Regions from separate parts of the Homo sapiens genome. Here all the other regions are linked to region 1. Evidence: promoter capture Hi-C in 16 types of primary human blood cells and fetal thymus (Javierre and others, 2016). All regions are on one chromosome and are shown on one strand. The core of a region is centred on a gene start or on the middle of the fragment in contact, and the rest is flanking DNA. Distances in the headings are between cores, read along the strand shown.

The links. Contacts are between HindIII fragments. The CHiCAGO score rates a contact against its expected background, and 5 or more counts as called.
Region 2: a contact is called between a fragment that was not itself captured here and the fragment with the promoter of ING3 in region 1, in 1 of 17 cell types (total B cells). The highest score is 5.8, in total B cells.
Region 3: a fragment that was not itself captured here is called in contact with the fragment with the promoter of ING3 in region 1 in 1 of 17 cell types (naive CD8 T cells); the score reaches 5.1 in naive CD8 T cells.
Region 4: a fragment that was not itself captured here is called in contact with the fragment with the promoter of ING3 in region 1 in 1 of 17 cell types (naive CD8 T cells); the score reaches 6.7 in naive CD8 T cells.

The regions. Positions count from the first base shown.
Region 1 is chr7:120,949,448-120,952,355 of GRCh38, reverse strand. ING3 (inhibitor of growth family member 3) reads right to left here and starts at 1,579. Exons shown (of 12, transcript NM_019071.3): 1 at 1,432-1,579; 2 at 1,121-1,192. The coding sequence starts at 1,459. RefSeq lists an enhancer at 957-1,036. The HindIII fragment of the contact is 9,487 bases long and covers 1-2,908 here.
Region 2 is chr7:121,560,328-121,563,418 of GRCh38, reverse strand. No RefSeq gene overlaps it. Among named protein-coding and RNA genes, the nearest start is that of FAM3C, 170 kb to the right of the region's middle. The HindIII fragment of the contact is 519 bases long and covers 1,559-2,077 here.
Region 3 is chr7:121,503,273-121,506,021 of GRCh38, reverse strand. All of the region lies in intron 1 of LOC124901737 (a long non-coding RNA gene), which reads left to right. LOC105375478 (a long non-coding RNA gene) reads left to right here and starts at 863. Exons shown (of 3, transcript XR_927917.2): 1 at 863-958. RefSeq lists an enhancer at 1-960. The HindIII fragment of the contact is 9,018 bases long and covers 1-2,749 here.
Region 4 is chr7:121,542,408-121,545,138 of GRCh38, reverse strand. No RefSeq gene overlaps it. Among named protein-coding and RNA genes, the nearest start is that of FAM3C, 150 kb to the right of the region's middle. RefSeq lists an enhancer at 1-836. The HindIII fragment of the contact is 7,032 bases long and covers 1-2,731 here.

The DNA of each region.
Region 1 (2,908 bases), core at 330-2,829:
ATCCTTGGATGATTCTCTTTTTATAGACAATGTAAGCCCCTCACAAGTGATAATACAGTCAGAGTCAATGAGTAAATTAGTAAAGCCCTAAAACAAACTCAGATCTGACATCAATGTCTGTGCTCAGTCCTGCAGAGAACACTACTTCAGCAAATCTTCAGCATTTCAACTACACTAAAATTAAAATGAATTTGTGAGATAGCTGGAGAACCACACACACAATTCATACTTCATATCACAATCCACTGAACAGAAAGTGGCTTCCATGCCACCACTTTTTATTATGTGCCACCTGAAACTTACCGGAAAAATATACTCATAAGCAAAGGGTATAGAAGTGGGTGTGTGGTCATGGGCAGAGAAGCCAGGAGCAGTGAAAAGGACAGGTTCTTAGCTGCAGCAGGTGGTCCCTGAGCCACCTATTTATAGTCGTTGCTCTATGAAAGAGCAAAGTTAATTTGGGGAAAAAGTCCTAGAGACTACCAAGCTATCACTGAAAGAAAAAGAAATGTTCATTAACTGCTAAAATTTTTAGTACAGCACATAAGAAACTTTACAGTGAAATCTAATTTCTGTCACTCATTTTAACCAAGAAAATGACGATTCTGTTACAATTTAAAATGTATCTAATGTGTAACTAAGTTTTCAAAATTTGACATTTGCCATGGTCTCTAAAGAGCTATATATAACCTCTGCTTCTGTGCTTTCCACTCTTGAAAAACTGTGAATAGGATGAACTTTAAAATAAGTATAAATGCTGAAATCTAAGTTCGATACGAAAAGGCTCAAGACGACATCTCAACATTTATTATGCTGACGTCCATTGAAACATAGATAACTATGTCAATGACGGTAGAGAAATATTTTTTGCACAATCCCACATTCTAGAAAGGAATACACGTGTCCCAATGCCTCCTGCTCTTGCAAAAGCCAGAAAAAAGTAGCATGGGAGGGAAGGGGAAGGCGAGATTCAGGGCTGCCAGTTCTTTTTGACAACTCCTTATGCACTAGCGGAGTGAGCCAGAGGACAGTGAAAGAGCACTAGGCGCTAGCAGTGATGACAAGCAAGTCTGGCACTGAACGCGCGCAGCGAACAGGAGTAGTAGACGCGCCGACTTACTCTGCACCTGCAGGTCCATCTCGCGCATTTCCGTGAAGCGGTCCCGCAGATCCATAGGAAGCTGCTCAATCACTGTCAAAGGGAGAGTCCGTCAGAGGGGCGGGGCCAACGGCGAAATACGCGCTTACGTCACTGCGCGCGTGCGTCAGGGGGGTCGAGGGGGCCGGCAGCCCACAACGAGGCTGCCAGTTACCGTGAGAAAGAAACATCCCCCGCCGCCCCCTCCCTCCCGCCATCTCGCTGCCCGTCCACTCGCGCTCTTGCCCGCCCGCACGTCCCACTGGCGGCCGCCGCCAGCGCCGCGCACTCACTTTCCAGATAGTCTTCTAGGTACAACATCGCGGCCCTTAGAGCTGAGGGAACAAGGGGGTCCAGGGGTTTATTTGTGTCACTCGCTGTCGCCGGAGTTTTGTCCCCTCCAATATGGCGCCTCCGCTAGCAGCACCCGCTCGACTCCGGCAAAAAAAAAAAAAGAAAAAAAAAAAAACCACTTTGGCGCCTGAGGCGCTTGCCTCACTGCCGCCCGGAGCTGCTATTGGTTGGTTCAAGCAATGACGTAGCCCGGCCGGTGTTCGCCCCCGTGCCTCTGTGGGAAATGTAGTTTTCTTCCTCCTCAGCGAGGGTTGGCGCGCTGGCGGCTCCCCTCGCAGAAACTACGAATACCGGGCGCCATTGCAAACAGTGCGTAACAGAATCCGAAATGCGGTGCCTCTGTTTATTTGTTGATTTTTGCACAGAGAATGGCGGGAGTTGTATGCACCTGCATAACACAACTAGGAACAACTTTTCACCTGTTCTTTGATGTGATTCCATGCCCCGGCGTTTGTGAGTTATGGGTTTCAAGAAGTGCCAGGCAAATAGCAAAGGTTCTAAACACTAGAATAATCAGCAAAGTTCGGGGAATTTGGATTGCTTAAAATAGAACTCTCTACTGGAATTTATCCTCATTATTCACTCTAAAATATAAAAGAGACACCTGGTTGGCTTACGTGTAATTTTAAAATAGTTTATACTGAGACTATGGAGTGAATATACATTTCCCAGATTAAAAGATGCACAAATAGTGTCAGTAGCCACTTATATATTCTAGTTTGCGGTCCATCTAATCGTCATTCTAATGTAATTGATCTATACATACAATCTGCATCCGCAAATAATAATAATAATAATCTTCATCATCACAGTGAGCAGCCATGAATTACGGATGCAGCCTTGATTTCTAATAGGCTGTTAATAGCAGTAACTTTATGTTGAGTAAATAGTCCATATTCGAGGTTGGTTGTCTTCGGCGTTCTTTAGTTTCTACTTTTCGACCTCTCCCAGCAAATGTTTTCCTGTGATATATTTAGTACGTCCCTACTCAGTTTCTTTTTAAATTGTTTTTTATTAAAAACTCTTGCACTCAATAAATGCTAGATATTGTTATTTTCCACTCTTCTTAACTTTTCGATTTTCTGGGGAAATTGTCATTAGTTCATAATTTATTGTTCATTTTCTGTTTTTCAAATTGCAGTTGAAACTGTGTGTGTGTGTTTCTTGCTTTCCTTCTCCATTACATACTCTTGTACTCAAGGTTTTCACTGCTCTTAAGCAGGAAACTTTCCTGTCGTGAATGATGAATCATGATGAATCTCAACGGAACCTTACTTCGATCCTAATAAGAATTAGAATTTTATAGTTTCTAGTTAAGTTTTTCATTACTTCCATCGAAAATCAAGTACTTTCGATCTTTTTCTCCCTTCTTTTTTTCCTCCTTTCTTCGTTTCCCATCCTTCCTTCTTCTGGCTG
Region 2 (3,091 bases), core at 569-3,068, 610 kb before region 1:
GAAAAAGTGCATTCTAGCACAGGCCTGCAGAGGGAGGACAATTGGAACCAGCTTCTCCACTTTTTGGAAAGCAGCCTTTGGCTGGGATATATAGATTACTTTAATGCCATTGCTCTATTGTATCTCTTCCCAGCAATAAACCATAAATCCACAAGCTTTGACGTTTTTGGACATATTTTGGACCTATATTAGCCAAATACCTTCTCTCTGCTACTATTTGTGTCATTGGGCTTCACAAGATCATCCCAGCTAATAAAATACATAAATATCTAGCAAACACACACGAACGATACCTGAAAATTTATAGATGTTATCAATGTGTAGAAATAGATCATCACTGGTTATTTTAAAATGCTATTGTGCTTAAAACATCATCTTATTCATGACACATATTTTGAATTTAGTAATGTGTGAAAGTCATTATAAGGATTCCATGGAAAAAGTAGCCCACCATATCAAATAGAGTAAGGCATGATATTCAAAAGTCAACATCAGAAGAGTTAAAGACCTAACTGGGAAAGTAAAGACTGAAATGAAATTAAGGAAAATGTAAGAGATTATCTTTATAAGCCTACGAGTACAGAAGGGCTTCTGAAACAGGAGGCCCAAAATCAAAACAATAACGTGAAAAGGTGGCATACTCAATTACATCAAAATTAAGGTTGAACAAGATTAGTAGAAAATATAGAGCCTAAACAAGTCAAAAGATTTTATTTCTATATGAATAGAAACTCAGGTAGATCATTTAGAAAAAGAAGGAAAACCAGAGAGACTGAAACCCACTGGTAATCAGATTAATGAAAACTGAAATGATGACATACCATTTTGTATTTCTCAGATTGGCAAAACATAGACTACAAAAACACCAAATGTTGAGAACTATGTGGATAAATGAGGAGCCACTGCATTGCTAAGGGTCACATACTCTGGCAACAATTTCAGGAATGGTAACAATTTCATGAATAGTAACCTGATAGTACTCAGAGAATTTATGATCCAAAAAGATCATTCCTGCATTTATATTGCAGAGAAACTCACATGTATGTCCATAAGGGTAGTGAGCAAGGATAATCATCATTTTGCTTGCATAGTCAAGAGTTTGAGGCAACAGTGGCGTCTATCTACAGGGCATCTTATAATAAAATGTGGTAGATACACACAATGGAATACTATGTAGCAACTAGAAACAATGAATGAGATATACATATACCAACATAAATAGATCTTAAAACACATGGAGTTAAAATATGCAAAAAATAGAATTCAGTCTATGGTACAAAGCCATCGATGCAAATAAAAAAGCAAACATGCACTTCAAGAACATACAAGTATATGATATATCAGACATGTGGAGAAGGGAAGTGGGACAGGGGATGAAGAGATGGGGAAAAGTAAAACAAAAAGAGCCAAGTAAGGACATATATTGGAAGTATGAGATAAACTGAGTAGTATACATTTAACTGAATTCCTTGCACATGAGGTTCAAAAACTCCATGTGGCTCTGAATTCTGGCAGAGTGCCAGGCTTTTGACAGACTCCTCATATGCATTTGAAAGCTTTATTTAATAGGAAACAATTATACGGTACTGTTTCAAAATTTAATCATTGGGCTCACTAATCAACACATACAAAGAGAATTAAGGTGTTGCCATGTTTTAATTGTATTTGAATTAAAACAAAAAACTTAACCCAGAATTTTATGAATTATTTTAGTACTAAATGTTAACATATATCATTAAAATACTAGAATTAGAGCTACCAGATAATTTATCACCCAAACTAGGACACTTTTGTGAATAAAAGTAGACACAAAAATAATGAAAATTGTATACTATTTGAGATACTTATTTACTGATTTATCATTTGATGCTATTTGTAGACATAAGTAATGATTCTATTCACATATCATTTTCAGGGACTTCTGCTTCTAGATTTGATAATTAATAGCAAACACATTTGATCTTTCACTTTAAGCAATTTTAAAATGGACAAAATATACAAAGCAGATTTCATACATTGGACAAAAGGCAGCTCAGGAAAGGGATCCCCTGAGAGAATAGAGCAAATGAAGTAAGCTTAGGATTGTTCTAGCTTACTCCCAAAAAAAGTGTCCAGGGAAGGGGGACCCAAACCACAGGCTGGCAGACTTGCTTAGTGGAAAGACAGAGTTGCCAATTCGGAGAGGCCAAGAAAATAGAATTTGCAGTGCAGAATACCAGAGAAGAGAAAGCTGTATGGAGCAGAGAGAGCTTTACAAAGAGAGAGCCCAGAAAAGTAGGAAGAGTTCCCCTCAAGTCTTCAGGTAAGTACCAATCAATACATGCACGTGAGAAAACTACCCAAAACTGGAGAGAAAAATATCAGAAATAATGAAACGCAACAATCCTCATAGCTCATGTAGAGTCTGAAATAGTGTTTTCCCAGTAGTCAGAGTGTAAACCTCTCTTAATTCATATGACAAAAAATGAGTCCTGGACTAAAGGCTGCTCAGGCTTTGCCTAGCAAATTTTAAAAGCAGGCTTCAAAAGGATTGTACTGTTTTCAAGTAACAAACTGAGCCTCAGAACAAGATTCAATAATATGAACAGGAGTGTATAAGTATCCAGCATCCAGCACGTTAAAATTCACATTGCATGGCATCCAAACAAAACTGACAGACATGAAAGGGAAATGTGACCCATATGGGGAAAATTAAATCAATAGAAACAGATCCAAAAATGAAACAAATATAGAATTAGTAGACAAGGTCATCAAGACCGTTATTACAACTAGATTCCATATGTTCAAGAAAATAAAGGAAATCATGAGAACATTAAAGAAGAGCATAAAGATGTAAAAAAAAAAAAGACCTGAATTAAACTTCTAGAGATGAAAATGTAATATCTGAGTGAAAAAATATATACTTGGATGGAATTAACAGCAGATCGAATACTGCTGATCAAAAATAGAAGCTGCATCCAAAAAAATTGCCATAAGTCAAGTTACTCCAAAATGAAGTAGAATTTCAAAATTTGTACACCATCTGGGGCCTTTTCATTGATTTTGTTCAGTTTATCCCTTGCTTTTATTTTATAGGACTAAATTTCCATGT
Region 3 (2,749 bases), core at 28-2,527, 550 kb before region 1:
TTGTGCCCTGACATGCCCAGACATATCCAGACATGCCTTGTACTCTACCAGGCGGACCACTCCTACCCTTTCCTCCTCTTACAAAGCACATGTTTACCCTATTTAGAAAAATTTAAGTCTTAGCCAATTGGGATCAGTTTAGATTGTGCGGTCCAACCCTAGCCAATAAAAGAAGGCCACAGGGACAGGAACTGCATTGGGGATAAAAACTCCTTCTCTTCTTTGTTTGGTGTGCTCTTGCGATCGTGACTGACACAGGCAGCACCCTTCTGCAGAAGTAAATTGCCTTGCTGAGAAAACTTTTTGTCTGAGTGCTGGTTCTTCCTTGCGGCACCCAGCATTTGTTTCTAACACCTTCCTGCCATAATGCTTAAATGTTTTCAATTGCATGCTTTATGTCACATTTCTCCAAAAATTCAGTTAAAGAAGTTGCATGATTTCCAGCTTGTAGTATCCATAGCCTGTCTTCAAGTTCATATAAGAAATGAGCCTTTAAAAGTTAAAACAACTCCCTTGGCCCATTGGCTGGATAATGCAGTTCTGTTGGTGCTAAAAAGCAAATTTTCCACATTCAGAAGTCACCAGGAGAATGAGGGTAACAGTAGTAGTGCTTTAAAAGTTAAACTACTTTGCTTACAGCATCTCTCTACTGTTGGGAAACCAGGAGGCAACACAACTCCATGTTTTGCTTTCTGTGAGTGAACTGAGTAACAGATGTGCAGTGACCAATCACTGACAGGCTTTTAAAGAGGTGATGTGAAGGTTGCTGATCATGATTGGTTGCATCTGTTGTTTACATAGCGATTTGTGGACCAATATGCTAGCAGCAAAGTTTGTACTTCCTGAAACATGGTCATGGAAATTCCAAAGAATACCTCACTGGTTGTGTCATATACAAGAAAATTTTGAATTGTTTCCACAATTAAGACACTGACTCCTAATCAAGTGTGTTAACCATGTAAGTGATGTTAACAACCTGACATTGTTTGGTTTGAACAGCACCACAGTCTTAATTGTGAGAGTCGAATGGGCTGTAGCACCCCCAGAAGCCTATGTATAATACTTGGTAGGTTCTGAAAATGTGTGAAATTTGTATTTACAGAGAGAAAAGCAACTTATAAAGTGTAGGAGTAGAAAATATAAATTTAGGGAAATGATAAAAGAAGCAGAAAGAAGAAATGAGAGTAAAGGAGATATTCAGTCAAGTGTCTGAGTAAGAAACTAGAATTTGCCTGGACTGCATTCTTTAGCTAATTCAAGGAATTTATGGACACAGGAACCGGGAAGCAGAGAGTGAGTCATCAGATCCTGGCATCAGGAGACTGCCTGGTGGAACAGTTTTAGCCTAAAGGAGAAGGTTCTGCTAGATTTCCATTTAAAAGAACCTTGTTTGTAAGGACCGCATTTAGATAAACATCCAGCGGACCTGGGGGTTTGAAGCCAGGTGGAACTACAACCCCCGTGTTTCTACTGCCCAGGAGAGCAATCAGTATTGGCTCCATAGCTTGAGGCTATGAAGTGGGACATCCACACTGAAACCGAGAAAAGAAGTGGGGCCCTGAGTACCTGTGTTACCAGAAAGGGGTCCAGATCCACGTCTCAAGAGAGGGTTCTCATGCAAGAAAGAATTTGAGGTGAATCCATAAAATGAAAGCAAGTTTGTTAAGAAAGTAATGGAATAAAAGAATGGCTATTTCATAGGAGGGCTGCATGTTGCCCATTTTTATGGTTGTTTCTTGATTATATGCTAAGCCAGGGGTGGAATTTTTATGCATCCCCTTTTTAGACCATATAGGGTAAATTCCTTACATTGCTGTGGCGTTCGTAAACTGTTATGGTGCTGGTGGGAGTGTAGCAGTGAGGATGACCAGAGGTCACTTTTGTCGCCATCTTGGTTTTGGTGGGTTTTGGCCAGCTTCTTTACTGCAACCTGTTTTATCAGCAAGGTCTTTATAATCTGTGTTTTGTGCTGACCTCCTATCTCATCCTGTGACTTAGAATGCCTAGCCATCTGGGAATGCAGCTCAGTAGGTCTTGGCCTTCTTTTACCCAGCCCCTATTAAAGATGGAGTTGCTCTGGTTCAAAGGCCTCTACAGCTGGCAACTTTTTATCATGAGAAGAAGCAACATATTTTATTTTGTTTACAAAGGTGCACTCATAGCCACTTAGCTCTACTTAACTCCAGCCAGACACCCCCACCACCATCCACTGCTGCTCTCTCATCAAGATTTCTCCTTATCAGCACCGCTTGTAAGCACAGGTTTCTAGGCTCACATCAGGCACTGAGTTTGTCGGACTCTTACCTTCTCTCCATTCACATTCACCAACAAGAATCCTTGGGTCCCTGCACCAGGTTATCTATATTATACAGCTTTGCTTTCCAAGTTGGTGAAAGAAAGTCTTACTTCCTAGATCTAAGACCCGACATACCTGAATACTCATTTCTTTCTTTTTCCCTGGAGAGAACAGTGTTCATTATTGAAGCGGCTATGTTGCTGGTGTATATACGCCAGGGTTCATTATCGTGTGTCACAAAAATTTAGGACACAGACACACAGGAGTAGTTTAGGAACAGAGATTTAATAGGCAGAAGAGAAAAGAAAGAGAAACAGCTCTCTCTATAGAGAAAGGGATCTCTGAGTAGAAAGGACTGGGTGGTAGTGGCAAATGCACCAGATTATATAGTCCAGTTTGAGGAGGTGGTGTCTGATTTACACAGGGCTCACAGATTGGTTCAATCAGGTATGA
Region 4 (2,731 bases), core at 58-2,557, 590 kb before region 1:
AAGGGGGAATTTATACCTGGCTTTGTCAGCAGGTTCAAACAAAGGTGAAAAGTGTGTGTTTGGCCTTGTCACAGGTAAACAAGAAAGCCATTTACAAGCCTGATGGGGGTCACAAGAAAGAATGGACAGTGAGTGCTATGTGAGTCACATGGAGAAGGGTGATTCATTTCCTTAAGCTGTTTTTCAGAACACAAAACGGTGAGGCATTTCTGAAAACAAAAAGTTGGTGAGATTTCTTAACCACAACTATTTTCTGAAAGCATGAGGCTCTGGAAAAGTTCAACATTGTTAGTCCTCTTTCCCTTTTGATCAAGACAGATAAATTTCATTCACTGTTGCACAAGTCAAAGGTGGCCATAAATCTCCTGAGTGAGGTGAACCAGGGTAAAAGAACTATGCTTGCGAGGACTCTTAATGACATGATGTCTTCAAAATTAATTAAATCACCCATCAAAAAATAAAATTACAATGTATTTAGTTTAAATTTATAATTGACTTTTATTTTCAATTCTAGAATCAGGGAACACCTCATTCTATAAAATAGAGTGAGTGTTCAAATGAACTGAATGGAGGAGGTTAGATTTATAGAATGAAAAGAGCCAAAGGAAACAAAAAGAGAGAATAAAAAACAGACTCATCCTTTCAACGTTACTTTCCTTATAGGGTTCAAACAGAGGAGGCATCCTTATTATGCTGACTCAGGTACTAGAATCTGCTGGGGGTTTTTTTTGGAAAACTGACCTGTTGGAAAGTTCAGTTTGATTATGTGGCACTTAGCCCAAGTAACTCCATTATAATTTGGTCTTGTCTGCTAGGGCCTAACACAGGAAACTAGTCCAAAATAATGGCCTCCCATAAACACATCTATTGAAAGGTAGAGGCAAAGCTCAGTTGTTTTAGAGTCCTAGAGATCAGGCATCTATATGAAAAATAAAAAAAATATATATATATAAAGCTGGATTAAAGTAAAGACCCAAGAGTTCAACCCTGAGAAAGTTTGGTCCAGTGGATTCCAGAGTCAGTGGATGAAAACCTTTTGATTATGTAGCACTGCTTATGGAGTTTCTTGAAGTTAAGAAGTTAATGTTCTTGGTGATGTTGTCCAGTCTTGGTTACTTCTCATGTAAGGTTATGCATGACCTGAGCATTTCAGTGAGCTTTCTTAGTGGCCTAGACAGTAACTTGCTCAGGGAGAAATTCAGTCCATTATGGTCTTCTGTGGTGATAAGTCCCTCAGGGTATATATCAAGTCATCAGGTTTTAGCCCCCAGTCCTTCTTCAGATCTGGAGGTGAAAGAACAGCTACAAGGCAACTTTGAGTCTCGATAAGGATCTCTAGATAGTCAGACTTTTGTTCTCAGTGAGACCAAGTTAAGAGGGAGGGAGAAAAGTTGGAAATGTTAGTTTGAAAGGTTATAGCCAGATATTGAAAAAAAAAATGAGAAGAATTGAAAACATGGTAAAAATTGACAATTTGTTCAAGGTAACAAAATCCAGTCTAATCACAAGTAGGTTACAAAACCAGTTATTGCACAGTGGGGAAGGAAGCCAATTAAATCTCAACCAAACAGAGTTAGCACATCCATCAGTTACCTACAATTTATAAAGAGGCACAAATAGTTCAAAGACGATTGAATTATTGTTTCAAATCTGATAACTCAAAAAGATCTGCTATAGTTTTCCACTGAAACAAAGTTTTCCTGAACAAAGATAGTCTTTAAAAAAAACAGGGCCAGGTGCAGTGGCTCACACCTGTAATCCCAGCACTTTGGGAGGCCAAGGCGGGAGGATCACGAGGTCAGGGGATCAAGACCATCCTGGCTAACATGGTGAAACCCCGTCTCTACTAAAAAAATACAAAAAAATTAGTCAGGCGTGGTGGCGGGCGCCTGTAGTCCCAGCTACTCAGGAGGCTGAGGCAGAAGAATGTCATGAACCCAGGAGGCTGAGCTTTCAGTGAGCCGAGATCGTGCCACTGCACTCCAGCCTGAGTGACAGTGAGACTCCATCTCAAAGAAAAAAAAAAAAAAAAGAGGAAAAGGAAAGAAGAGAAAAAAAGTGATTATTCTTGATCATAAAATAATGTGGTTTCATTCTTACTGGATTTAGCCTGATTATGTACAGAGGTACAGTAAGAATGGTAATTTACCATATATATCTTTTTAAGTTTGCTTTCCTGGAAGTTATCATTAGGAACTCTTGATTCAATTTCAACTTTTATTTATGTAGTTATTTAGGTTTTGTTTGTTTGTTTGTTTTTTGGGACAGAGTCTTGCTCTGTTGCCCAGGCCGGTGTGCAGTCACATGATCTCAGCTCACTGCAACCTCTGCCTCCTGGGTTCAAGCAATTCTCATGCCTCAACCTCCAGAGTAGCAGGAACTACAGGCACGTGCCACCACACCTAGCTAATTTCTGTATTTTCAGGAGAAACAGGGTTTCACCATGTTGGTCTAGCTGGTGTCGAACTCCTGACCTCAAGTGATCCGGCCACCTCAACCTCCCAAAGTGCTAGGATTACAGGCGTGAGCCACTATGCCCGGGCAATTTTAACTTTTAAATGCCCCTTGAGGCTAGTATGCCAAGCCAATAATTCATCATCAGATTTCACCTATATATTTAGATTAATTCCTTTCTTCTTGAGGTCCCTCAAATATTCTGAAATTCTTAGGATTACCAGGAAGTAGCCTTCCTTCCTCAGCTCTAAGGCTAAGAAGGAACAGTGTAGGCCCT